Regions from separate parts of the Homo sapiens genome. Here all the other regions are linked to region 1. The links are contacts of gene promoters, found by promoter capture Hi-C in human tissues and cell types (Jung and others, 2019). All regions are on one chromosome and are shown on one strand. The core of a region is centred on a gene start or on the middle of the fragment in contact, and the rest is flanking DNA. Distances in the headings are between cores, read along the strand shown. Region 1 holds the start of FARP1 (FERM, ARH/RhoGEF and pleckstrin domain protein 1). Region 2 has its middle 53 kb from the start of IPO5. Region 3 overlaps IPO5 (importin 5). Region 4 overlaps IPO5 (importin 5). Region 5 overlaps FARP1 (FERM, ARH/RhoGEF and pleckstrin domain protein 1). Region 6 overlaps IPO5 (importin 5).

Region 1 (4,662 bases), core at 692-3,191:
AACGCTTCGTTGTGCTTGGAGTAACTCCAATATTGATGCCTTGCTGCAGAACGATGCTGCAGGAATATAAAGTGAGCCATGTGCTAGCTGTACCCACTTATGAAGCACACTGTCAGAAACTGTCACATCCTGGAGACCAACCCATCCGAAAGACTGAGAATAAACCCCCTACGAGAACACTGTGGAAGGAGGGAGAAAGCCAAAGATAGGATGAAGCAGGGCCCTCCTAAAGTCTCCGGAACAACGAAGCCAATTTTTAAGGCAACTCTCCCTAAAGCTTTCAGGACCAGAAAGATGTTTCTTTCTCCTCTCCTTGTTCAGACTGAATAAGAAAAGCAAGACAATGCTGGAGGATGTTCTGAAATGGGCTCCGCAAGTCACCACGTGCAAAGCACATTAAACAGAAGCCAGTGCTAGGCCAGGGTTTGGCTCTGAAGATGTTGCCTACTGGAAGGAGAGGGGCCCCCGGGGGTTTCCACGCAGAGACCAGGGCTGGGCGGTCAAACCTGGTAAACTGACAAGGAGAAGAGCCTTAACAACAATATAATGAAACGGCCAGAGGCCACCGGTACTCCCCAGGGCTGGGAGAGACAGGGAGGCCGAGGCTGCTAAACTGTTCCAGATGACAAGCAGGCTCTCCCACGTCTCCACGAACTGATCAGATACCAGGGCCTCGCTTCTTTGTGAGCCTCAGCTCCCTCCTTTCTGGGGAACCCTACTCGATCCCCAACAGCCGCTGGCCTCCAGCTGCCACAAACGAGATCCAGACTCATTACAGGGAATTCGTATTTCCCCCCCTCAAATAAAACACACACACACACACACACACACAGAGTCTCCGGGGTCCAGCCGGATCACACAGCTAAAGTTTCCGGAACTTGAATCGTAAAACCACAATCAGAAGTTGTTTGGAAATACTCGCCGCAAAGCAATCTGTCCTTTGCTTTAAAAAATAAAAAATAAAAAAAACTTTGCCCTGCATAAAGGCAGACAGTAAAGAGAGACACAAATCTAACTTGGGCAGAGGGTGTGTTCCTCTTTGTCACCCGCCGGGAACCCTCGCGCCGCGCGTGGGCGAGCGGCGGGCACCCGGCGGCATCCGCGCCAGCGGCCACCTCCCCGGCCCGCAACCGGCCTCAGGGGCCGAGATTGCGGCCCGAGGTCCGGAAGCGGCGTCCAGCGCTGTCAGCGGGCGGGTAGGACGGAAGGAAACGGGGGAAGGGCGCCGGGGTCGGGGGAGGCGAGCGGGGACCGGCGCGGAGCCCCGCAGCCCGACGTCGGCGGAGGTGAGGGGAGAGGGGCGCAGGGGGCAGCCCGGAGCCCCGAGGCCCCCGAGCTCCTGCGATGGTGGCCGGGGCTGCCCGGGCCCGACCCGCCGCCCGACTGCGCAGGGCAGGACCTCGGGGACCACGCGCCCACCTTCGCCCGCAGCCGCGGCCGTGCGCTGCGGGAGCCTGGACTCGCACAAGTTGCCGCCCGCGGCCCGGACCCCGCCGGCCCCCGCCCTCCCGCCGCGGTCATTGTTCACCGCGCGCCTCCTACCTCCACAGCGCCGGCGGCTGCGGCGGCTCCCTCTCCCGGCTCGGGCTCCGGGATCGGCGGCTCCCAAGCCCCCGGCGGCCGAGGGCGCGGCGGCGCCGGCTATTAATACCCGCGGGCGGCGGCGGCGCGGGCGCGCGAGCAGGGCTGGCGGTGGCCGGCTGAGGTCCGAGCCATCAAAGGTGGCGCGGGGCGGAGGGGAGGGCGGAGCAGGCGGGGTGGGTGGGGAGCGGGCTCCGGGTCGCCATGGCCGCCTCGACGCCGGGGCCAGCGCTACTCGCGCAGGGAGGAGCGGCGCAAAGCGGGCAGCGGCCGCGTCCCCGCCCCGCGCCCCAGCCGAGCGCCCGCACCGCTGCGCCCGCGCCGGACCCGCCGCCTCTGAGGCCGGCGAGCGGGAAGTGCAGTGGCCACCGCCCCTCCCCGGGTCTGGGCCGGCCCCTCGGCGGGGGGAGGCGGGCGCCGCGCAGCCCGAGCAGCGGGGACGCGGGAGAGCCACAGCCCCCTCCAGCGTCCGGGCCCGCGCCCTGCGCCCGCCCCGCCCCGCTCCGCTCCGCCCGGGCAGGTGCGCCCAGGGGCCTCCCGAGCCCAGCGCGCCGCCGGGGATCTGCGCCTCTCTTGGGCTTCCGGCCAGGGCCGGGCTCCGCGCGGCGCTACCTAATGCAGCGCGGGGAGCGCCACTGGCGAGACGCGAATCCAGCAGCTGTGGCGAAAAACGAACCGGGGAGAGCGGGAGACGTGTGCACGGCGAAGCCGGGAGCGGCAGGCGGGCGGTCAGGGGCTCGGACTCTGCAGGTCGCTTTTTGAGGTCCTGCCTGGGGCTGCTTCGCCTGCGACGTCGCGCGGGGAGGACAGTCTTCAGGGACCCACCGAGCCCTCCCCTCCCCCGGAGCCACAGGCACGGGCTTCCGGCACCACCCCGGGCTGCGCGGGACTTAAGCTTGGGGGAGCGGCGGCCACCCCGCGCCCGCCCACGTCCTGGCCCAGCGCCCTCCGCCCGAGCGAATCCCATGACAGTTCCCGCCCGCCCAGCCTCGGGGGACAGTGCCCTTGGGGAATGGCGTGGGGGAGGTTAGGAGTGGCTTGCGGTGCTTGAGAGCCTTCGGGGTTTCGGGAACTCTACGGAGCGGGGAGCAAGATTCAGGACCCAGGAGGCAGCGATCTAGGGGCACAGTCACCGTCCCCACCCAGCAGCTGCCGCGTTACCTTCTCTTCCCCCTTCTGAGCCTCCAGTCCCTCTCTCTAAGCGTGGCGGGAAGAGGCCTAGGGCGCAGCAAGTGACGTTCTGCCAGACCCGGGGCTAGCGGATTCCGGCCTTCGGAGGCCACTGGCTCAGAACCGTGGGCCTTTTGCGTCTTACAGGAGTTCCCTGACCTCAGACCGAGAGGGCAGATTTCACGGGAGAGGCCTCAAGTGAACTCACAGCTGGACAGGAGCTGGGCAGAAGTGGAGTGTAGGGACCCTGATAGAAGGGCGGGTTGAGACAAGAACAGGGGTCTTGGAAGTAGGGGGTGCTTGTGGGCAGCTCCTGGGGAGGAGCAGAGATGTAATACTTGCAGATTTGGTGGTCTGTGGTTGAAGAGAAGAAATGGTGGGTTTGAGGCTTTGCTCTGTCAGCCCAACCAGCTGTGTGTCACAGATCAGATTTTTTTCTGCTCGTGATTCTCTAAGTGTGGTTCTCAGACCACGACCACCACCAGCAGCCCCTGGAAACGTCAAGAAATGAACATTCTTGGGCCGCATCCCCGACCTACCTAATGAAACCTTAGCAAGCATCTGAATCGCCTGCAGGGATAAAGGACTGTCAGGCTCCATCCCCAGAGCTGCCGATTCAGTAGGTTTGGGGTGGGGCCTGAGAGTTTGCATTTCTAACAAATTCCCAGATAGTGATGTTGCTCTGGTCCTGGGATCACACTTGGAGGATCACAGTGTTAGGACAGTGGGTCTCAAACTCATGGAATCATCTGCGATTAAAAAACAACACCCTGGTTGCACCCCAGCCAAATATATAAAGATTCTAACCCAGGCATCAGTAAAGTTCCGCAGGTGATTCCAGTGTGTAGCCAGGTTTGAGAACAGTTGCTGTAGGCGGCTTTTTAAACTCTAGTGTATACCTGAATCACCAGGGAATCTTGTTGGAATGCAGATTCTGATTCAGTAAGTCTGAGACTGTTTCTAACAAGCTCTCAGGTGTTACTTGCTGGTCCAAGGACTACACGTAGTAGCAAAGTGCTATGTCATACCTCCCAACTAAAAGGAAAAAATTAGGCCGGGCGCGGTGGCTCACTCCTGTAATCCCAATACTTTGGGAGGCTGAGGCAGGTGGATCACCTGAGGTCAGGAACTTGTAAACCAGCCTGGCCAGCATGGGGAAACCTCGTCTCTACTGAAAATACAAAAATTAGCTGGGCGTGGTGGTGCGCGCCTGCAATCCCAGCTACTCGGGAGGCTGAGGCATGAGAATTGCTTGAACCCGGGAGGCAGAGGTTGCAGTGAGCCGAGATCGTGCCATTGCACTCCAGCCTGGGCAACAAAGTGAGACTCCATCTCAAAAAAAAAATCATAAAAATAATAAAAGCAAAAAATCATAGAAAGCGCAGAAAATTAGAAAAGTGACATTTTCCCAGTCACTCTCTTTGCAAGACCGACATTTTCTACATGTTACAGCATTTCTTTCATAGTCTTTGTATGTCTAGAATTAGATTTAGTTGTGATCTTAAAACTATTTATGATCATAACACATAATATATTGATCATATTAATCAATATGATAATACATAATATCCCATGTTGCCTTATCTCAACATTATCAACATTTGTGAAGGTGACTTTTAAAGGAGCCGTTCTGAGGTTTGCAGGCTGAGGGCAGGAGCCCATGGGGAGAGAGTTAATGGGGGAAAAGAGAGGGGAGAAGGGGCAGTTCTGGGAATCTAGTTAGAGAGGCTGTAAAGCGGTGGGGTCACACTAGAGAACTTCCTACGTTTCCTCCCAGCTCTCACCAACATTCCGCGGTTGGTACCTAACCTGATAGAAAGTACTGTTTCTTTTAAGAGAGGGTCTTGGCTGGGCGCTGTGGCTCAAGCCTGTAATCCCAGCACTTTGGGAGGCCAAGGCAGGCAGATCACG
Region 2 (4,662 bases), core at 1,502-4,001, 240 kb after region 1:
GGAGGAGCCACACAACGGAAGCAGCCTCTATCTTTAGTCATTACATCAAAAAAACATCCCTGGAGAGCTCTTTACCTGCACTAGACATTTTGTGAATAGTGGAAGTTGACTTGTGCTGTGACACCCCAGTGAGATTTGGGTGTCTATTTGTTACCACAGCATGGGCTAGTGTTATACTGACTTTTATCCATAGTTATAAATTTCTGTTCTTTATAAATTACCCAGGCTCTGGTATTTTGTATGTGTTTGTCCATTTGCACTGCTATAACAAAATACCAGAGGCTGGGTCATTCATAAAGAATAGAAATTTATTTCTTACAGTTCTGGAGGCTGGGAAGTCCAAGATCAAGGTGCCAGCAGACTTGGTGTCTAGTAGGGGCTGTGCTGTCTGCTTGCATGATGGCACCTTGTGACTGTGTCCTCATATGGCAGAAGGTGCAGGGGCAAAAAGGGCAGAATCCTGGTGAAGCTTCTTTGATAAATGCCTTAATCCCATTCAAGAGGGAGATGCCCTTATGAGCAAATCACCTCCTTAAGGCCCTACATCTTAATATTATTACATTGGAAACTAAGTTTCAACATGAATTTTAGAGGAGCACAAACATTCGATTGTGACAGAATTGGTAACTACTAACCAATTTACCACTTGCAGTGTGTAGATAATCCCCAGAAGCAGAGAGACTGATATGTGCTGTAGATGTGGGTGCACGGTTGAGTTCCCAGGGGCCCTATTGTGCATCGCTCATTGGCCTCTGTACTGTTTCCATGTGTGCAGAACTGTGCTGGGAGCTGTAAGAATGTAAGCAACAACAATAAAGCGATCTTAGACCTAAATCAAGTCAGTCCAAGGAGAAGAAACATACACTTCTTTTCTTCTATAAGCTTGCAGTCTATCTATTAGGAGAGCAAGGACAGGCACCCAAGAAATTAAAATATAAGGTAGAGGGACAAAGAATATTTCATTGGCTTGGGGAGATCACGAGCTGTAAATAGTAAATGAGTCTGTGCGTTCTAGGCTATAGTACAATGCAAATTTGGAGAATAAAGGTATTTTAATGAGATTAATATGTTTGAAGGTTAATTTTTATTTTTATGTACAGTAAAGGTAACATTAAACCTTTATCCCAGTTTGGCGACAAGTTCTTTAGCCTTGCTTTTTGAGCTTAGCAATGAGAGCCATAAATTTGATAGAATGTTATCCCCAATGATAGCAGATCTTGTCATGTCTGTCATTGTAATTGGTCCTGGTAGTTTCCACCAGCTTAGCTAGGACTCCTTTGTCTTCTGAGTTAACCTGTGTAAAGGCAATGGTGGTGCAGGTCTTTCTGTGGAGGAAACATCCCACCAGTCTGGCTTTTCTCTTGATAATGAACTAGGAGACTCCCATTTTAGAGCCCAAGGCAGCAGGAAGAACAACCAGCTCAGTGGAATCCACACATGTGCAGTCATCCCCAGGTGAGCCTTGTTGTTCTCCACCAAGGTGGTGACTTTATAAACACCTGCTTAAAGGACCGGCAGTCTCAGTGGGGATACCCCTTTTCTGGCAGCTCTCTGCTTTTCTTGCTCTGTGCCTGAATGTAGTTGGCCACTTTAAGCAATTCAGTAGCTGTTTGACTGGCCAATGTCTGAGTGAGCTGGTTCATCTCAGGGGATGCTTTCAAACACTTATAAAGGAAGACTCTTTGCCACCACAGCTGGATGTAACAGCTGCATTTGACAAGCAGACAGGGGTGATTATTGCATCCCATTTTGTAGGCCTAACCGGGAATGATAATAATTTCTTTTCTTTTTTCTTTTCTTTTTTTTTTAAGACAGAGTCTCACTCTGTTGCCTGGGCTGGAGTGCAGTGGTGCGATCTTTGTTTACTGAAATCTCTGCCTCCTGAGTTCAAACAGTTCTCCGCCTCAGCCTCCTGAGTAGCCGAGATTACAGACATGCACCTGGCTAATTTTTGTATTTTTAGTAGGGACGAGGTTTCACCATGTTGGCCAGGCTGATCTCAAACTACTGACCTCAGGTGATTTGTCTGCCTCAGCTTCCCAAAGTGCTGGGATTACAGGCATGAGCCACTGTGCTCAGCCTGGAAATAATAATTCAGCTTTGATTTGAACATTTTAAAACATTTTGATAGCATTTTAAATTTTGGTTAAAATAACACATGTGCCATATTTAAAATCAACAAGCCCCTGTCAGGCCTGATGCCACCCGTTTCCCTGATGGTTTACATTTGTAGAGAAGTTTTCCAGATTCGCCTTACAGAAATAAATCTGGCCATTCAAGGTCAGTCTAAATCTGTACTTCTAGAAGTCAACATATGTAAATATGACCAAACATTGAGGTTTTATTTTCCTCCATAGTAAAGACTTATCTTTTTTTTTAAAAATGGACTGTATCAAATCAATTTTTATACTTCTTTCCTCAGTAAGCAAAAATAAATTTTTCATGTGCTATAAAGACAGCATTAAATCTTTATGTCCTCTGTTGATTAGAAAGTATGATATTAGCAACACTAGGATATTTATACTCGGAACTCTGTAATTATTCTAAAATACATGCTGTCTTTTGTTTGTCTATTTTATGTGGGTTGCTCTCTCTTACCTGGTATTTGAGAAATCTACTAATGAGATCAAAGAGAATAAAAATTGGGATACTAGATTATTATTATTTATATATACATATTCCTAGAAGAATCTAGGCCTGATATAACTTTTTTAAGGGACTACTGTTCTAGGATCATTTTATCTGTTCATTATATACCCTCCAAACCAAATTCTGTAGGTGGTTTTTTTTTTTTACATTTTCTCCTGGGAAAGATAAACGAGGCACTCCATGGTAGAATAAAAAAACAGATTTGGCTTTGGGGAGTTGGGAAAGTTCTGGTGAAATGCCAAGTGCTGAGCTGCAGGTTTTCAAAATTGTTTATTTTGAAGCTTAGAATTGTTGGAAAAGTATCACATATGAGACTCATGTCATTGCTTCTGACAGTGAAATAGGTCAGCTGCCCAGGTGGTGTCTGAGAAACCTACAGAAAAAAGATAATGTATACATCTCTTCTTCAGCCCAGACTCTGTTAGCCATCCGTATAACAGGCTCAGTGGGGTTGAAAATCTTCAGTACCATTCCTTGGATACAGATCATAGTCTGGTGGTCTGACTTTTATAATCATGGTCATAGTTCTTGAGAGGTTTCTTTTTAAACTTTGCAAATTCCAAATTAATCCAGTATGGATGTGTTCACGGTGCTGTGTAACAGCAATGCCTGTTCTCAAGAGGCATATGCTTAGATCTCTTTGTACAGCAAATCAGCCTGAAATTCCATATGTCATTATTCTGACTTTAGGTCATATGGTGAATTAACTGCAAGCTTATAATGCTCACAGAAACAGCAGTGACGCAGAAGAAGGGGCGGGAGGTTCCAAGAATGACGAATGCCAGGTAGGAAAGTGGAGAAAGGCCAGAACATGAGCGTCCTCCCCACCAATTGTGGAGGGAAAGCTTTCTTGGTTTTCTTTTTCCCAGTAGGAAAAATACTTCATTAAGAAAACTGGTCACTGTAATCCCAGCTACTAGGGAGGATAAGGCATGAGAATCGCTTGAACCCAGGAGGCAGAGGTTGTAGTGAGCTGATACTACGCATAAAGTATTCTTTATCTTGTAGGCAGATGATGATGTAAACTGAATTTACTAAAGAAATGGTGAATGACATATTCATGGAACCATTCTAGTTTCTAATAAACAGTTATAGCTTGGTTAGCCCATCTGTGGGTGAGGTCACTGCAGTCAGTATGCACATACCCACCCCCAAATCGGCAGAGAACATCTGCAGAAGTGAGGCTTCCTCACTCTTCCCCCTTCCTGGAATGGTGGAGCTGGATTCTGAAAGGGATTCCTGGGCTTGAGAACGTTCTGGGCAGACCCTGAAGGGGCAAGTCCATAGTACACAATGACGTGGTAACAAGACAAACTTCTTATCAAATCCATAAAGCTATCTAAACTGCACAATATCTAGCAATGAAATTAACCAAAGAAATGAAAAATCTATACAAGGAAAATGATCAAATATTGATGAAAGAAATTGAAGAGGACACATGAAAACTGGGAATATATTCCATGCTCATGGATTGGAAGACTTAATATTATTAAAATGACAATTCTACCCAATAAAATTTACAGATTCAATGCAATCCCTATCAAAATACCACTGATCTTCTTCACAGAAATAGAAAAAAGAGTCCTAAAATTTATATGGAACCACAAAAGACCTTGAATAGCCAAAACAACCCTGAGCAAAAAGAATAAAGCTAGAGACATCATACTACCTGACTTCAAAATATACTACCAAGTTATAGTAACCAAATCAGCATAGTACTGGCATAAAATCTGACACATAGACAAATGTAACAGAATAGAGAACCCAGATATAAATCCACACACTTATAGCCAACTCATTTTTCACAGAGGTACCCAGAATATACAATGGGGGAAAGGACAGTCTCTTTAATAAGTGGGGCTGGGAAAACTGGATTTCCATATGCAGAATAATGAAACTAGACCTCATCTCACTGTATAAAAAAATCAATTGAAAAGGAGTTAAATATTTTTTATTATTATTATTATTATTATTTTTTGGAGACAGAGTCTCGCTCTGTTGCTCAGGCTGGAG
Region 3 (4,662 bases), core at 629-3,128, 180 kb after region 1:
CCGTGTTGGCCAGGCTGGTCTTGAACTCCTGACCTCAAGTGATCCACTCACTTTGGTCTCCCAAAGTGCTGGGATTACAGGTGTGAGCCACTGCGCCTGGCCACAAATCATATGTCTTATAAGGGACTTATATCCAGAATATTTAAAAAGCCCTACTCTCAATTAAAAAAAGACAACCCAATTAAAAAAATGGGTAAAACATTTGAATAGACATTTCTCCAGAGAAAATATACAAATGGCCAATAAGCACATGAAAAGATGTGCAACATCATTCATCATTAGAGAAATGCAAATCAAAACCACAATGTAAGTTACCACTTCATACCCAATAAAATGGCTTTAATAAAAAAGGCAACAGCAAGTGTTGACAAGAATGTGGAGAAATTCAAACGCTCATACTTTGCTAATAGGAACATAAAATGTTACAGCCAATTTGGAAAACAGTCTGAATAAGCTGGGTGTGGTGACGCATGCCTGTAATTCCAGTTACTCGAGAGGCTGAGGCATGAGAATCACTTGAACCTGGGAGGCAGAGGTTGCGTTGAGCCGAGATCGTGCCATTGCACTCCAGCCTGAGTTACCATTTGACTCAGTAATTTCACTCCTAGGTATATGTGCAAGAGAAAAGACAACATATGTTGACACAAAAACTTGTACATGAATGTTCATGGCAACATTATTCACCACAGCCAAAAAGTGGAAACAATTCAACTGTCCATCCACTGGTGAATGGATAAACAAAATGTCTTCTAACTATACAAGGAAATATTACTTCGCAATAAAAGAATAAAGTAATGATACATGTAACAACATGAGTGAACCTTAAACTCATTAGACTGCCTGAAGGAAATCAGACAAAAAGACCACACATTTTTTTGGTCCCACTTATGGGAAATGTCCAGAATCAGCACATCCATAGACAGTAGATTGGTGCTTGCCATGTGCCTGGGCATGGGGTGGGTAGGGGAATCAGTGAGTGCTAGCAGGTATGGAGTTTTCTTTTAGGGTGAGGAAAGGGTGATAGTGATGAATGTGCAGCCCACTGAATATACTAAACACTCCATTGTACACTTTAGAAGGTTGAACTTTAGGCTGGGTGAGGTGGCTCATGCCTGTAATCCCAGCACTTTGGGAGGCTCAGGCGAGTGGATCACCTGAGGTCAGGAGTTCGAGACCAGCTTGACCAACATGGTGAAACGCTGTCTCTACTGAAAGTACAAAAGTTAGCTGGGCGTAGTGGTGCGCGACTGTAATCCCAGCTACTCAAGAGGCTGAGGCAGGAGAATTGCTTGAACCCAGGAGGTGGAGGTTGCAGTGAGCCGAGATCATGCCATTGCACTCCAGCCTGGGTGACAAGGGTGAAACTCCATCTCAAAAAAAAAAAAAACCAAATAAATAAAATAAAAAGTAAAATTTGGACTTTATGGTGTATGAATGTCTCAATAAAGCTATTATATTAAAAATACATTTCCTTAGAGAGCTGAAGGATATTGATTTAGACCTCAATTAGTGATTTTTTCCCCCTATCATTCACAGTATTTTTACCTTAGTTCTGAATCCTTGAGTGATAACCATTCATAACCTTCAAACTTCGGAGAATTCCTAAACCAATATTTGTGGAGAGGGAGAATGGGGAGATTCAGATATGATTTGGTCTGTAGACTTTCCTTCCCATCTTTTTGCTACTTACAGCAAGTATCTTACAATTTGGACACATGACATACACATTTCACCTCCTGCATTGTGAGGACATACATAATGGAGTCTGAATTGTGACATCGATCTGCATCTCATAGTTGGAGCTATTGGCAGCATGGATTTTTAGTCATCCACAGTTAATGAGGAACAAATGAAAGGGACCTTATAATGGTTCATAGGCTTCAATTCCATGCATCCTATGTGTAGTACTGCTTGATGCCACATTTAACTGCAGTAGTATTTGTTTAATGAACATTTTCTTCATTCATTTGTTTAGAAAAATATTAGGCACCCCTCTGTGGGAGGTGCTGCTAGGCTGTGGGGATTCCACGGTGAGCATGCGGACAGGGTTCCCACCTTCAGGGAGCTTAGCTCTTTTGAAAGAATTCAGATAATAAACAAGTAAACTGATAAGATACTTGCATACAGTTATAGGTGAAAAAAGAAGATAATGGGATCACGAATGACTGGATTTGGAGTGGGGTCATACCCTAGGGACACAGTCTTTCTTTTCTTTGAGACAGAGTCCCAGTCCGTCACCCCGGCTGGAGTGCAGTGGCGCTATCTAGGCTCACTGCAACCTACGCCTCCCGGGTTCAAGCAATTCTCCTGGCTCAGCCTCCTAAGTAGCTGGGACTATAGGCGCCCGCCACCACACCCGGTTAATTTTTGTTTTTTGTATTTTAGTAGAGACGGGGTTTCACCATGTTGGCCAGGCTGGTCTTGAACTTCTGACTTTGTGACCCACCCGCCTCGGCCTCCCAAAGTGCTGGGATTATAGGCGTGAGCCACCGTGCCCTGCCGGGACAGTCTTTTGAGAGGAGGTGACAATGAAAGATGAGGCAAATAAAGAAATGGAGGAGGCTCTCTCAAGCAGAGGTGACAATACGAAGGACAGAGGCAAAAACAAGTTGGGGTATTCCAGAAAGGAAAGAAGGGGATAGCTAAAGCTGAGAGGGTTGAGAGGCCAGCAGAGGCCAGATCACCCAGGGCACCCTGATAGTTCAGCAGCATGTTCTGCTACTAGGGCATTGTGATGGTTCTGTAGTGTGACTTGTTCTCTCTCTTTTTTTTTTTTTGAGACACAGTCTTGCTGTGTCACCCAGGCTGGAGTGCAGTGGCGTGATCTTAGTTCACTTCAACCTCTGCCTCCTAGGTTCAAGCAATTCTCTTGCCTCAGCCTCCCGAGTAGCTGGGATTACAGGTGCCCGCCACCACGTCTGGCTAATTTTTGTATTTTTAGTAGAGACGAGGTTTCACCATGTTGGCCAGGCTGGTCTTGAACTCCTGACCTCAGGTGATCTACCTGCCTCAGCCTCCCAAAGTGCTGGGGTTACAGGTGTGAGCCACCGTGTCCTGCCTCTTGTAGTGTGACTTGTCCTAGGGGAAAGGGGAATCTAGTGGAGGGTTAAGAAAGAGATCTGACCTGAGAAGCTTTCAACTTTCAAAGATCATCTTGGCTGCAGTGTGGGGTGGGGTGGGATGGGGCTTGGACTGAGGTGGTAGCAATCAACAGTGTTCACTGTTGTGTGGTCGGTTTTAGATGGTTTTCTTTTCTCTTTCTTTCTTTTTTTTTTTTGAGATAGTTTTCTTTTGGAAATGAGCTGGACAGAGGGTGCAGAGGCCGATCCAAGGTTTGTGAGGCCTAAATCATACAGTTTGAGGGCCTTCCATAAGAAAAATAAAAACTAAACACAAAATGAGATAGAGGACCCTGCAATGGGGTAACACAAAATGAGATAGAGGGTCCTGAGCAAAGGAGAGTCCCTGACACTTAAGCTTCTGGAATTTCTTGATGAGTCCTCTCCCGATGGTGGGGGTGAGGTCGGGAGAGATCAAGAATGCCCAGGTTTTGTGACTGAGCAACTGATGATGCTATTAAGATGAGAAGGAGGTGTTTGGGGTAAGGTCTGGAGAGAAGAGCTGGGTTTCCTTCGTGGCACTTTTGTGGGACACAGGAAACAGCCACGTGGCTGAGGATAGAGGGACAATGGAGCCCAGGAAGAGGGCAGGGCTGGAAATGGCAAGCCATCACTTTCATGGCATTTAAAGTTGTGGAAGTGGATGACATCAGGTTGGGAAGAGAGAAGAGAGCCAAGCAATCAGCTGCAAGACAACTCCACCTGAGGCCAGGCCCTGGAGGTTTCTAGTTTATATATAGTCCAAATATAATAGTATATTTAACATTAGTCACTTTAAGTTGTAATTCTCTTTTTCTTTCTGATTGCAAGGGTTTCTTTCTTTACTTTTTTTTCTGAGACAGAGTCTCATTCTGTCTCACTCTGTCACCCAGGCTGGAGTGCAGTGGTGCGATCTCGGCTCACTGCAATCTCCACCTCATGGGTTCAAGCGATTCTGCTGTCTCGGCCTCTAGAGTAGCTGGGATTACAGAAGACAGGGTTTCTTTAACATTTAAGGAATCCACTGATCTACTTCTGAAATCTTCAGAGATAAAAAAGAGAAGGAATCCACTAATGCATGTAAGGATAGTGGGCTGAACAAGTAGGCCCTAATGATCAGAACAAGTCAATTAAAAAAATTATTTGATCAAAGAATTGTTTATTTTTATTGTTTTTATTTTTATTTTTTCTTATACTTCAGGAGTAGTAGGATTTACTTTGTGCCAAGGAAATAACTAGTTTTCTCTAAATTGTCTTCAAGCATTTAGGCCTCCTACCAACTAATATAATTCTCTACCTCTCACTTAGAAACATTGTTTAACAATATGGAATGATCATTTAAAGAACTTAGATCAGGCTGAGTGCGGTGGCTCATGCCTGTAATCCCAGGACTTTGGGAGGTAGGTGGATCACCTGAGGTCGGAGTTCGAGACCAGCCTGGCCAACATGGTGAAACCTTGTCTCTACAAAAAATACAAAAAAAAAATTAGCCAGGTATGGTGGCGCAGGCCTGTAGTCCCAGCTACTCAGGAGGCTGAGGTGGGAGAATCGCTTGAACCTGGGA
Region 4 (4,662 bases), core at 1,013-3,512, 160 kb after region 1:
AACAATAAAAAGTTGACACCAATTAAAAGACAGATGATCAGAACAGATTAAAAAACAAGAACCAACTATATGCTGTCCAGAGAAGTGCAGATTCATATGCAAGAATTCTGATGGTATTTGTTCACTGTGGAAAAGAAATCAATTTAAGTACACTTGGAATTGCTTACTCTAAGAAGCCTCTTAGTAAATAGATAATCCATTCTTATCTAGCAATTTAGAGTTGAGTCTAATGTGGGTAACATTGATTTCTTTAGAGCTTACCTGCTCTCATTGCTACCATACCTCTATACGTGGCTTCTCTGGAACAAAGTGACAAGGGAGGAAAAACAAGGCTATTTTGAATCCACATCTAGCTTAAACCTTTTACTAAGTGCCCCATGGCATCCATGAGATATTAACAGATAAGGAAATAAAGGCTTATAAGTTAATGACTTGCCTAAGATCATAGACAATGAATAGCAGACAGAACTCTGGTCCTCTAAGGCCAACCATATTCAAAATCTCTCTGGTACTGAAAGCTCTGTTTCACTTCATTAAACAACCAGTTCTATTTATGCAGTGCTACACAGGTTTCAAACTTTTCAAACATATCTGTCTGGGGAAGAACAGATTTTGGGGGAAAGGAGAATTCAAGATCTTCTGATAACCTCAAGTTCCCATTCTAGTAAAAAGCACATAGGATCTTAACAATGCTGAAAACTGTGCCAAAAAGTATTCACAGCCGAGGAGAGAAGATGGTTTGAATTTATTTATCCAGAAGAGATAATTTATGTAAAGATATTCACAAGCTGAATGCAAAAATGGTTATGTACCTTTGAGACTTTTCACTTAATATTTACCAAAGCAACTCCTTATACCAGTAGTATGTTTTCATTTAAAAAGTATCTCACTATACAATAAAAAGCACCCAGCTTAGCCACTTAAACACTGGTAATGTGATCAATGTTTAACACTTAAATTTTCAGTGGTCTAAATCAAGTTTTTGCAAAAACTTTTTTTTTTTTTTTTTTGAGATAGAGTCTCACTCTGTCGCCCAGGCTAGAGCGCAGTGGTGCGATCTCGGCTCACTGCAACCTCTGCTGCCCAGGTTCAAGAGATTCTCCTGCCTCAGCCTCCTCAGTAGCTGGGATTACAGGCGCCTGCCACCGCGCCCGGCTAATTTTTTATTTTTAGTAGAGATGGGATTTCACCATCTTGGCCAGGCTGGTCTTGAACTCCCGACCTCGTGATCCACCTGCCTCGGCCTCCCAAAGTGCTGGGATTACAGTCATGAGCCACCGCGCCCAGCCATAAACTTCTCTACTAGGCTATCACTGTCAGAAAACCTAATATAAATCCTGAGGCTCCCTACTCTTGCCCAGGCGGAACTGTTGGTGTGACTATGCTAACTCTAGTAGACTTAACAATTGACCCAACTTAACATTGGGCCAAATATTAAACTCTACTCCATAATGAATTAGAAGCCAATGGTGGGAGAGTTTAGTACGAGTGACAGATGATGTCTGTTGAGAGAGGGTTCTCTCCATGTGATATGTTCCACTGTGGTAATCCAAATATAGTATTACATCAATACCATCACAATGGTCAAGGATAATGGTTAAACAGTCTAAGTTCCACACAGACAGGGATGGTAACTTTTTATCTTTGTATCTAAGTACGTAGCATATTAGTGTATAAGAATTATAAAGACTGTTTCTAATACTATTCCTAGCACTAGTCCAGTTAGGTTCAGTGAATGTTATCAGTTGTGGCAAACAAAATTTCAATTTGATTTGATTCCACCTTATACAATTTACACAATGCAAAGACTTCTCCTCCGCCTCTTCCCTGCCCACGAAGAAGAAATGCTCATATGTACTCATCTCATTCCATAAATATTTATAGTGAGCCTACCTTGTATGAGGAAAAGTAAAAGAGGGGACACATGACTTTTATCTATTAACACCCTGGTTCCTCAACAATCAGGTATATTTTTCAATGTTATCCTCTGTCTATTGAAATCTCAACAATGGGCTGGGTGTGGTGGCTCATGCCTGTAATTCCAACACTTTGGGAGATGGGAGGATCACTTGAGGCCAGGAGTTCAAGACCAGCCTGGGCAACACAGCAAGACCCTGTCTCTACAAAAAACACTCAATGAAATTCTCTATTAGAGTCAATGAGGAACAAATTCTGTATGGAGAACCTTAGTAAGAAAATAAAATCCATGCATATGATTAATAAATACTTAAGCTTATGTCATATAAAAATGTCTAGTGATAAATACCATGAATACTGTACTTTGCACTACTTGTCAACTATTTATTCAATGGTTTATTCACGTTATTGTATTCTGAGACTCAGGGACATTCACATACGTTTCTTCAAATGAGAAACATTTTCTATAAAGTTAAAGAGAAATATCCTTACAGATTTTTAAAAATAGAAATAAACTATAAAGCCTACTAAATGGCATATACGACGAAAAAAGTTTTAACTTTTTAGAGTTTTGACGTCTCTTCAATGATTTCAACCAAATATATAACCATATTTGAATACAAAAGTCACCTTAGTCAACAGTTTGGTATTTATGTGTCGACTAAGTATTTTTATTTTGAATGAGTAAATTACAAAGATATTTACTGAGCCCTGGCCAATTTTTCAGTTCATAGAAAATATTTCTATATTTGCTGTATCAGACTTAATGCTAATTTTATTTCATTTGATCTCTTATAAAACGCTTATTTCATTAGGCAAAAAAGAAAGGGGCATTCTATGGCACCAGAGAGCTTCTCTTAACATTTACTTTTTTGGAGGTCAAATTAGAAAATTCTGTATCACAGTACTTAGTTTACATATTAATACATTCTCAGGATATACAAAGAAAGTAAAAACCTAGTATCTGAATGTTTTCACTAGGAATAAAGAGACTAAGAGAATAACAGTACTTATTTCCAATTGTTCTTTATGAGAAAATGTGCTGAATGCTGATAACTATCCCCAAAGTGATGTAAGTGATAAAAGATTTACAACAGGCACCAATTGGAATTCAAGCTAAACCAGACACTGGTATTTAGTTCAATAGAAGAGAGATTCCCCACTAGGCTTGACAATAGAGACTTAAGCAACTGGAGGGAACAGAGAGAATTAAACTAGCTTACTAATTACAATGCTGTTCTGCTTTGTAACACATGAAAATTTCTATTATTTTCATGCTGGGATTAAAAAGTTATTTTGGCGAAAAATTATCTCAAGAGTTACCAGAAAGCATTAATTTTTTTTTTTAAAGCATCATCATATCCCCAAGGCAAACTGGTGCAATACATGCATATCACTTCTAGGAACAAATGCTACTTTTCAGTATTCTACAAGCAAACCTGGCAAAGTATGCAAAGATAGGTATACATGTACTCCTGCGCATAGTACTATTTTTAAAAGAGCAGGTCACTGGAAACCGCAATATCCATTTCATAGAGGGTTGCTTATATAAATATCTATCCATATGATGTATAATCTATAGCTGACCAAAACCTCACTTATGAGGCAATGTGAAATATAGAGTGAAAAATTCAAGTTGCAAAATAGTGTAAATAGTATTATAAGCCCATTAAGTAAAAAATGAATGTGTATGTTAAATTTTCAGCGAAGATTCACGACACAAGCGGTCACCTTTGGGAAACGGGATAAGAAACGATTCACTGTTTGAATTTTTACCCTGAACATGTATTACATGTATAATAAATAAAAACTTAATGAAGTGAATAGTAGAAAATGCTTTTTCACATAGAACCGAATTTTGGGTGTGTTTACTTCACTTAATATAAAACCCCTAAGTGTAACCAGCATATCCACCATCTATTCAAAACAACGATTACCACCGTCGTTTCAAAGACACCTGGAAAAGTCTTCAGGCCTGAGTTCAGAAGAGGACTTGCAGTCAATTTCATTGGCTATATGTAAAATTAATTTTTGTTATTTAAAAATATCTGGCTGAACATCCTTCACTTAATCTTATGAAACTCTACAATCGCATGGTTGCAAAAACCCCATATATAACCAAGTTTGGCGGTCAGCTAAGAAACTGGAAAGTTTCTCCCTCCCCTGGAAGTATCCCACAAGAATCGTGGTCTCAACGCTGAAAATGTAACATCAGTCTTCTAGTGAACTTGGTAAATGAGCTTACAGATATATTTAAAATACTGTCACTTGAAAGTCTCTCCACATTTTGGAGGCCAGGAACAAGAGGTGGTTTGAAAAAAAGAGATTACGGTTAGATTTAATGAAGTTGAAGACTTAAACATATGGTACTGGCCCAGTTAAACAACGGAAGTCCCACTACATCCCATTTATCCCACGATTCTCTAGAGAGCAAAGAAAATTTGTCTGAAGAGCAGAGTAAGTGTATTATAAGCCCAGAGTAAGGTGGAAACTGCATAGAAAGAAACCCTAAAGGCAACTTCACAAAACTGGAGGTGGGAGGGGGTAGGGAAATCTGGCTTCTGATGTTAGGAACTAGAATGAGAAAGAACTAAATGGAAAAAGGCAGTAGGGACAAGGCAGGGCACATATTTAAAAAGAGAGGGACAGACGGTGTGGGAGATGAGCAGGGGTAGAAGCAGGCGTGACGGGTCAGGTAGCAGCCAGGGTTTGGGAGACCCACAGCGCTAGGCTGGGTGGAGACAG
Region 5 (4,662 bases), core at 658-3,157, 150 kb before region 1:
AACAGTAGGCTATTAGTAGTTAAGTTTTTGGGGAGTCAAAAGGTATACGTGGATTTCTGACTGCACAGGTTGGGCACCCCAACCTGCGTTGTTCACGGATCAACTGTAATCTCAAGAACTAGGCAACTGTAATATTTACTTATATAATCAGAGATGTGCATCCTTTCAAATTTCAAGTTCCTTTCATATGGAGCAAAGAAAGTATCTAAAATTCAGGGGCTAATGTTCTTTTCATGTGTTTGCCCCCTTGGTCTTTCCCTTCTGAAAACGGCAACTCCATTTTGCCAGCTCCTTGGCCCAAAAACCTTGGAGTCATCCATGACTCCTCTTTCTCACACATTCAATACCCAATTCTTTAGGAGATCTTGTCAGCTCTACTGTCAAAATGTAGCTGGAACCCCAGCACTTCCCACCACCTACACCAGTACGATGTTACTCAAAGCCACCGCCATTGGTCTCCTGGCCACTACTGTCCCAACTCAGCAGCCAATGTGGTCCTTTTGCAAGGTCAGGTCAGATCCGTCCTTCAGAATAAACTCTGAACTGTTCCTGGCCTACTGCAATTTCTCTGGGCATCCAACCCTATACCACACTGTCCCTCACCTGTTCTCTACAGCCATGGAGGACACCTTGCGGTTCCTTAAAGACACAGAACATGCTCTCTACCTCAGGGCCTTTGCACGTTCTCTTTTTGCTCTCTAAAACTTGGACATTTAGCAGAGACCCATGGGAAATGGGGAAGTCATTTTTGAGGTCATTTCCCATAGGTCTCTGCTAAATGTCACTTTTTCAGAGAGGCCTGTCTGACAAGTTTTATAAAATATGAACATGTATATATCCATTTGCACACCATTATGCTCTCTCCTTCCTCCCTTACTTTGTTTTTCTTTGTAGTACTTAGTACCACCTGGCATATGATGTAGTTAGGTCTTTTCCTGTCTTTCTGTACTGGAACGTAAGTTCCCAGCCCTCTACAAGGGGGAAATCCCCCAGAAGTAAGGCTTGGGGATGACGGACTGCCCTTCCCAACCTCACCACTCCCTCCTCGCCACCCAACACCAAAAAAAAAAAAAAAAGATAAATCTCCACCACACTTCTCTAAATCAGAGTTGTACTGAAAGGTGTAAAATGGGGGTGTTGTGGGGAGAAGTACGCGTGTGTATGAAACACTGACCTTTGCATCAGGAAACCTATTCAAAAACCCAGGTATTTCCAGGACAAATGTTCCTATCTCCCTGACAGTTCCTGTGCTCTTTTTCTGTATGGGCTAATTTTAATTCCATCTCATTGGGTCCCTGTAGTAATCAATGTTGACAGTCCCAGATGCCAGGCTTTCGGGAGGGCGTCTGCTTATTCCCTCGGGATTACACTAAGTGACTTAACCCACAGGACAGCGAGCAGTTCTCTAGAGTTTTCAAGAGAAATAGCATGCAGTGCACAGTCCACACCAAGAGCCAGAGGGGTCCTGCAGGGCTCTGAGCATCTGTGTATCGAGACAGTGATCTCCTTGAGAGCAGGGACCTCATCCTCCTTCATGGCTGGCCCGGATGCCTTGCATGAGATCTAGACGTAGTCAAGCTCAATACGAGCTGGAAGAATGCTGCCCAGCTGAAGATAACCAAATATTTTACAGATTGTTCACTGCATGCGGATGGCTCAAATAAATGCTTTTCATCTATCATTGGAAATAGATGCATTTTTTAAAGCATTAAGTATTACGGCCATTCATGTTGAGTATACGGAGACACCAGATTTGCACTCAGCGGGAATGAAACGGTCTTCCATTTTACGGGTAACCACTTAGAATTTCCTATGTTGTGCTTAATTTAACTTTGAGACTCTGCATTAGCCAAAGTACAATAACATTAACATTAATTGTTTCTTTAAGGGAAGAAAGGTATGATCGGATTAATGTGTCCGTGAGCACATACACCAGGCCTGGCACGTGGTTCCCAACTGCTGCTGGATCCACCCACAAGTCTTGGCATAGGACTAATTCAGCCCAAAAGTACATTTTGATGGTCTGTGGGATGGATCCCAATGGTAGCTGACAGCTGACATTGAATATTTGAGTACACGGTATCGCAAACATTAATGAGTTATAAAAGAAAATATCATCCCACTGAGTCGAATTGCTCATACACAGAAAAAAAAAAAAAAAAGCCATAGGAACTGCTGTTCCTACAATACCCAGAAATAGAATTCATAACATATGACTGGCACAATTAAGACATTTGAGAGCTTGGTAAAAATAAATAATTATGTAATAGAAAAAAAGCAGTGATAACTTTCAAAACATTTAAACACCACATAGGCCAGCATCTCGCCCAAAGCTGAAATCTCATTCACTGGATATCCAGCAGGGGTGTGTGTATTCGTTCAAACACTTGTGGAACCCAGGTGCTGTTACCGCCATCAAAACAATGATCCGTCTGTAGGCACCACTAACCATGAGACTCCTCCAGCACCTATCAGATGTTAAGACAGACACTAAGGATAAAATGACAGAAAACCGCATTTCTGGGCCCAAGGGCCTCAGAATCTATTTAAAGGAGACAATACAAAATTACACAGTGAAGGGGTTGGTGATGGGACACAGTGAGGCCACAAGCGCACCAAGGAGAAATATCATGAATAAGAAAGCAGGAAAGACTCCAAGGAAGTAATAGTGCTTTGGCTCATACTGAAGTCTGTTCAAGAAGCAAGAGGCCAAGGCATTCCAATGAAGCGCAGACATGGGGCGGGAGCGTGGAGAGGATCTGTAAGTATATCAAGAGGCTCCCGTCAGTTCCAGAATAGCCATATGTACGTGCTATGAAGCTTAGATTTTATCCCAAAGATGAAGGAAAACCACTGAAGAATAACACACTTAGCTATGCATAAGCAAACCTATACCATCCCTCCTCAGTCTTTATTGTGCTACTTACTAATTGAATGTCAGTCCTCCCCCAGCGACCCTAAGCTCCATGAGAACAGGGACTGCATGGGTTTTGTTCACCCATGTATTCCTATCATCAAAAGAAGTGTGTGGGGCCGGGTACGGAGGCTCACGTCTGTAATCCCAGCACTTTGGGAGGCCGACGTGGGCGGATCACGAGGTCAGGAGATCCAGACCATCCTGGCCAAGATGGTGAAACTCTGTCTCTACTAAAATTACAAAAATTAGCCGGGCATGGTGGTGGGTGCCCGTAGTCCCAGCTACTCGGGAGGCTGAGGCAGAAGAATCGCTTGAACCAGGGAGTCAGAGGTTGCAGTGAGCCGAGACCGTGCCACTGCACTGCAGCCTGGTGACAGAGCGAGACTACGTCTCAAAAAAAAAAAAAAAAAAAAGAAGTGCCTGGGACATGGCATAACCAGTTTTCAAGCTGTCAAACGGCACAGCACAAAACATCATATTGGATTTTTTTTTAAAGATTATGCATGAAGAGAATTAAAAATGAGCTAAAGAAAATTGAAATCAACTGTAGCTTAGGAAATTCAATATGTTGAAATATGTGCTTTTAAATAACAGGTAGGGGGCAAACAATCTAGAATCAGTCAAGTAGAATCTGGTTGCCAATGTGTAAAAGCAAAGTCAGAATAATCATGGTAAAGACACGTCTTGGCTGGGCACAGTGGCTCACACCTGTAATCCCGCACTTTGGGAGGCTGAGATGGGCGGATCACGAGGTCAGGAGATTGAGACCATCCTGGCTAACATGGTGAAACCCCGTCTCTACTAAAAATACAAAAAATTAGCCAGGTGTGGTGGCGGGCGCCTGTAGTCCCAGCTACTCGGGAGGCTGAGGCAGGAGAATGGCATGAACCCGGGAGGAGAAGGTTGCAGTGGCCGAGACTGAGCCACTGCACTCCAGCCTGGGAGAGAGAGCAAGACTCCATCTCAAAAAAAAAAAAAAAAAAAAAAAAAAAAAAAAAAAAAAAAGACATGTCTGATGGTTAATTTGGAAAGGACAAATGCCTATGACATTGACTTTTTGCAGAGAAAACAAAAATATTTGGAAGATGAAAGGAAAAGCGAACATTTTGTATCTGTAGTGCAAAGCACAGTGACTATAGCAGAAACTGGTTTCTGTTTTGTTTTATTGGGAGCATGTCATGAAAACACATGCAAAGATTAAATTGCAACAGGTTGGGTCAGTACGATGCTACATAAACAGTATGAGAGTTTTTTAATTAAATTGGCTCAGGTAACAAAATGATGTGATATCATGGAAACAAAATCTGACTGGATAAGCTCACAGTACAGCAAGGATCCCTGAAGCCCATCAATCCAAAATTCTGTTATTATTCTTCCTCATTGTTCTTTTTATTTATAAAAGCTAATTTCTTTAAACAACAACAAGAAGAAGTGCCTGGGACAAAGTAGGTACTGAGTAAATGTTGACTGGATCAATGAGTCCATCGGTAATCAATGTGTTGTCTCTAGTAGGGTGGACTGAAAAGGGGTGTTTTAGTCCATTTTCACGCTGCTGATAAAGGGAAACCCAAGACAGAACAATTTACAAAAGAAAGAGGTTTAAAGGACTCACAGTTCCACATGGCTGGGGAGGCCTCAAAATTATGGCAGAAGGTGAAAGGTATGTCTCACATGGCGGCAGACAAGAGAAGAGAGAGAAGCAAAAGCAGAACCCCCTTATAAAACCATCAGAACGTGTGAGACTT
Region 6 (4,662 bases), core at 602-3,101, 140 kb after region 1:
CCTGTCACCAGCAATATTTTAAAATAATTCTTCTGTAATCCCAGGACTCTGGGAGGCTGAGGCAGGCGGATCACCTGAGTCAGGAGTTCAAAACCAGCCTGGCCAACATGGTGAAACCCTGTCTCTACTAAATAAATAAATAAATAAATAAATAAATAAATAAATAAATAAAAATTAGCCAGGTGTGGTGGCACACCCCTGTAATCCCATTACTCCGGAAGCAGAGGAAGGAGAATTGCTTGAACTGGGGAGGCAGAGGTTGCAGTGAGCCGAGATTGCGCCACTACATCCCAGCTGGGTTGACAAGAGCAAGACTCTGTCTGGGGAAAAAAAAAAAAAGAAGCCAGGCACGGTGACTCACACCTGTAATCCCAGCACTTTGGGAGGCCCAGGTGGGCGGATGACTTGAGGTCAGGTGTTCAAGAACAGACTGGCCAACATGGTGAAACCCTGTCTCCACTCAAAATACAAAAATTAGCCGGGTGTGGTGGGTGCACGTCTGTAATCCCAGCTACTCGGCAGGCTGAGGCAGGAGAATGGCTTGAACCCGGGAGACGGCGGTTGCGGTGAGCAGAGAGTGCGTTATCGCACTCCAGCCTGGGCGAGACTCCATCTCAAAATAAAAATAAATAAATAAATAAATAAAATAAAATAAAATAAAATATTAACTCATATGAACCTGAGCCAGTTACTACTCCAGATTTTCATAATTCCCCACGTCAATTACACCCACACTCTCAGCAGAGTTCTTTAACTTGTGTTACACATTCAACTATGTCTTGAGAAAGCCATCTTACTTTCTGCTTCTGTACCTCAACCTCTGCTCCATGTTTAGTGTGGACTGTGCTGCTGGCCCCAGAGGAAATGTCTTTCCTCCTCTGCTAGGCTACCTTCTCTTCGTACAACTCTTCCTCGTGAACACTGTCCTCCTACCATCCCATCCCAACAACTCCTTCCACTTATCTTTAAAAACCCATATAGTGCCTCACTGCAGGAAGGAAGGGCAGGGGTACACACAGACTATCATACCACAGCCATCCACCCAAACCTGTAAAGTCATGTTGGATCCATCCATTACTGATTTAACCAACCAACCAATCTGCCTTCAACTTGGGTCCACCTCGGTCTGCCTTCGGGCACACGAATGTTTCCTTTATCATATTCTTAGTCTGCTGTCATCTGATACTGAGCACTTGGGCCTTTGTTTATAAGTCCTCTGTCTTTGGCTTCTGAGACATTGCATTTCTTGTTTATCTTGCTCTCTGACCAATTGCCAGTGCTATGCAAACTGTGGTTTGTTAACTATTTGCTACCAGTTCATATTAAGTATAGGAATTGAGGGCATTAGAAACTTTTATAGCAATTTGAGAGCAGGTTTATCTTTTATTTTCTATGCCTTCTATTCATTTCATTTTTATAGTAGTAATCCATTTTCATTGCATTTGACAATAAACATTTGACAATAAACTGGGCTAAAATCCTTGCTTTTCGCATCTACATCTCTCACACACTGTGCTGGACTAACATCATTCAATTGTTTTCAGGTTGCATCCCTTATTTCAGCTGTAACTATAATCATTTTTACTTGGATACTCAAAAATGATGTTGCTTCTACAACTTCTGTATTTCTGCCACTCTGGTTAGAATACTCAATGTTTTTTAATTTCTTCTCTTTCATCTTTTTTTTTTTGAAACAGAATTTTGCTCTTGTTGCCCAGGTTGAAGGGCAGTGGCACCACCTCAGCTCACTGCAACCTCTGCCTCCCGGGTTCAAGTGATTCTCCTCTTAGCCTCCCGAGTAGCTGGAATTACAGGCGTGCACCACCACACCCGGCTAATTTTGTATTTTTAGGAGAGATGGGATTTCACCATGTTGGCCAGGCTGGTCTCGAACTCCTGACCTCAGGTGATCCACCTGCCTCAGCCTCCCAAAGTGCTGGGATTACGGGGATGAGCCACCGTGCCGGGCCCTTTCATCTTTTAAAATTCAAACTGCCAGAAACAAACTGTTAATGCTTCCCATGAAATGTCTTTTAGAATCACCTCTTCCACTATTACTATCTAAGCTCCCTGGACGATGACAGTATGATGGTCTTGCCTTAAATCTTCTCCCTTTTTTGTGTATGCCTCACCCAATGCTACCACACTAATTTTTTACCATATGATAATTTCCTGCAGCATTTAAGAACACAGAATGGTTTTTCACACTTTACATAAATCAGAGTTCAAAAACTTCTCTGCCTTATTTTCAGGGTGATCCATATACACTGATTTTACCTGACCTTTAGCTGTATCTTTCCCAATTCCAATTATCAGCCCACATTTTGGTCAATCTGAATTTCTCTACTCATCATTCCACAACTCCGAATAGCCTCCTCAGTTTTTGTACTTTATATTCTTTATGGTCATGCTGCAAGTCCCTCTTTCTCCAGTTCTTACCCATCAAATCAACCCAAATTAATCTACAAACAGAAAGCAGCCTACAGATCTTAAAACTTACCTCTTGAAGCTTCAGTACCATAATGGAATGCAGATGTTTCACCAAATTATCCAAGTATGGAATAAGTAGTGACTTGGGACAGTCTTCAGTAAAGTTAATGAGGGCAGCAGCTGCATGGGCCTGCACACGTTGATTGCCTTGGTCTTCCATGGTCTGCAGCAGAGCTGCAATCACCTGTGAAATGAAACCAAATGGGCACACATGTTGAAATGTCCACCCTTCTTCCTAAAGTCTGATTTAAGTGTTTGAGGACTTGTTACTTACCTTCTCATGAAATTTCTTTTGGAAACCAGGTGCAAAATCTGTAGCCATCTGTCCCACGGCATTACAGGCTGCATACCTTACTCTTGGATGCTGGAAAATGTTCCCTTTCATTAGTAAAAGCAAGAAGGTTTCCACATGAAGCTACACTAATCATTTTGAATCAAATATTTACTGGTACTTACAGGATCCTGGAGAAAAAGTAAAACAAAATTTACGATCTCATTTAGAATTCCTTCCATTTGCTGGTGGCACCCTTCACCAATGGCAGATAAGGCCATCAATCCTGCATGCCGGTATTTCCAGTCAGCTACCGAAAAAAATTACAGATGGAATAGCAATTACACACTATAAACATGTCATTCTGGTAGAGGGAGATGTATAAAAGTTCTTATTTGGAAAAGAGTAACAAAACTTTTTTGAAAAGGGTATATGTATATATAATATAAAAACATTTGTATAGGCCGGGCGCGGTGGCTCGCGCCTGTAATCCCAGCACTTTGGGAGTCTGAGGCGGGCGGATCACAAGGTCAGGAGATCGAGACCATCCTGGTTAACGTGGTGAAACCCCGTCTCTACTTAAAAATACAAAAAATTAGCCGGGCACGGTGGCAGGCGCCTGTATTCCCAGCTACTCGGGAGGCTGAGGCAGGAGAATGGTGTGAACCCGGGGGGGCGGAGCTTGCAGTGAGCCGAGATCGCGCCACTGCACTCTGGTCTGGGCGAAAGAGCGAGACTCTGTCTCAAAAAAAAAACAGAAACAAACAAACAAAAAAAACAAAAAACAAAACATTTGTATATTTACTTTTTAGAAAAATGAACAGAAAAAGTGCGTGACTACTTGATTCTAAAAGTATGTATCAGGCCAGGCGCGGTGGCTCACACCTGTAATCCCAGCACTTTGGGAGGTTGAGGCGGGTGGATCACTTAAAGTCAGGAGTTCAAGACCAGCCTGGCCAACATGGCGAAACCCCGTCTCTACTAAAAATACAAAAATTAGGCCGGGTGCAGTGGCTCATGCCTGTAATCCCAGCATTTTGGGAGGCCAGGGTGGGCGGATCACTTGAGGTTAGGAGTTTGAGACCAGCCTGGCCAACATGGAGAAACTCCATCTCCACTAAAAGTACAAAAATTAGCTGGGTGTGGTGGTGTATGCCTGTAATCCCAGCTACTTGGGAGGCAGAGACAGGAGAATTGCTTGAAACTGGGAGGTGAACATTGTAGTGAGCCAAGATTGCACCACTGCACTCCAGCCTGTTTGACAGAGTGGGATTCTGTCTCGAAATAGCTGGGCGTGGTGGCATGTGCCTGTAGTCCCAGCTACTCAGGAGGCTAGGGCAGGAGAATCGCTTGAATCCAGTGGGTGGAGGCTGCGGTGAGCTGAGATCACATTACCCTGGGCAACAGAGCGAGATTCCACCAAAAAACAAACAAATTTCTAACTTAATACTTCTGAATTTTAATTTAACAAAAGAACACATTAACTTTATAATTAAAAAACACAAATGAAAATAAAACACATACAACAATAAACTTTGGGATTGATATATATATTACAGGTACAAAGGTAACTGAAATATTCATAGAAATAAAAAGGAAGGATGGCCAGGTGTGGTAGCTCATGCCTATAATCTAAGCACTCTGGGAGGCTGAAGCAGGAGGACTGCTTGAGGCCAGGAGTTTGAGACCAGCCTGGGCAACATGGCGAAATCCTGTGTCAACAACAACAGCTGCCCTCCAGGGCAGGTGGGCTTCCACCATCACCTCCGTCAGGGGCAAAAACAGAAAGAAAGAAGTGGTTTCTCTTTTGATAACATTAGATAGAGTTTCTTCTTTTAAAAATAAAAGATATTGGGTGAAAGAAGAGTATATGATTCAAACATTCTAATATTCCATAAAAA

Evidence for each region. Contacts are between HindIII fragments. The study calls those that stand out against the background at their distance.
Region 2: a contact is called between a fragment that was not itself captured here and the fragment with the promoter of FARP1 in region 1, in 4 of the 25 tissues and cell types used here (aorta, mesenchymal stem cells, spleen and 1 more).
Region 3: a fragment that was not itself captured here is called in contact with the fragment with the promoter of FARP1 in region 1 in 1 of the 25 tissues and cell types used here (dorsolateral prefrontal cortex).
Region 4: a fragment that was not itself captured here is called in contact with the fragment with the promoter of FARP1 in region 1 in 1 of the 25 tissues and cell types used here (mesenchymal stem cells).
Region 5: a contact is called between a fragment that was not itself captured here and the fragment with the promoter of FARP1 in region 1, in 9 of the 25 tissues and cell types used here (H1 embryonic stem cells, IMR-90 fibroblasts, dorsolateral prefrontal cortex and 6 more).
Region 6: a contact is called between a fragment that was not itself captured here and the fragment with the promoter of FARP1 in region 1, in 2 of the 25 tissues and cell types used here (IMR-90 fibroblasts and mesenchymal stem cells).

What each region holds. Positions count from the first base shown.
Region 1 is chr13:98,140,373-98,145,034 of GRCh38, reverse strand. It overlaps FARP1 (FERM, ARH/RhoGEF and pleckstrin domain protein 1), which reads right to left and starts at 1,941. Exons shown (of 27, transcript NM_005766.4): 1 at 1,543-1,941. LOC105370328 (a long non-coding RNA gene) reads left to right here and starts at 1,125. Exons shown (of 3, transcript XR_931670.4): 1 at 1,125-1,196. RefSeq lists silencers at 1,891-2,200, 2,441-2,490. The HindIII fragment of the contact is 5,274 bases long and covers 1-4,662 here.
Region 2 is chr13:97,898,711-97,903,372 of GRCh38, reverse strand. It overlaps the pseudogene RPL7AP61. Among named protein-coding and RNA genes, the nearest start is that of IPO5, 53 kb to the left of the region's middle. The HindIII fragment of the contact is 4,150 bases long and covers 677-4,662 here.
Region 3 is chr13:97,957,287-97,961,948 of GRCh38, reverse strand. The region is part of intron 2 of IPO5 (importin 5); the gene reads right to left. Among named protein-coding and RNA genes, the nearest start is that of IPO5, 5.9 kb to the right of the region's middle. The HindIII fragment of the contact is 5,039 bases long and covers 1-4,397 here.
Region 4 is chr13:97,977,175-97,981,836 of GRCh38, reverse strand. The region is part of intron 4 of IPO5 (importin 5); the gene reads right to left. Among named protein-coding and RNA genes, the nearest start is that of IPO5, 26 kb to the right of the region's middle. RefSeq lists a silencer at 4,640-4,662. The HindIII fragment of the contact is 7,265 bases long and covers 1-4,662 here.
Region 5 is chr13:98,286,469-98,291,130 of GRCh38, reverse strand. All of the region lies in intron 2 of FARP1 (FERM, ARH/RhoGEF and pleckstrin domain protein 1), which reads right to left. Among named protein-coding and RNA genes, the nearest start is that of MIR3170, 80 kb to the right of the region's middle. The HindIII fragment of the contact is 9,849 bases long and covers 1-4,662 here.
Region 6 is chr13:98,000,876-98,005,537 of GRCh38, reverse strand. IPO5 (importin 5) reads right to left here. Exons shown (of 29, transcript NM_002271.6): 14 at 2,947-3,071; 15 at 2,765-2,854; 16 at 2,501-2,674. Among named protein-coding and RNA genes, the nearest start is that of IPO5, 50 kb to the right of the region's middle. The HindIII fragment of the contact is 3,648 bases long and covers 28-3,675 here.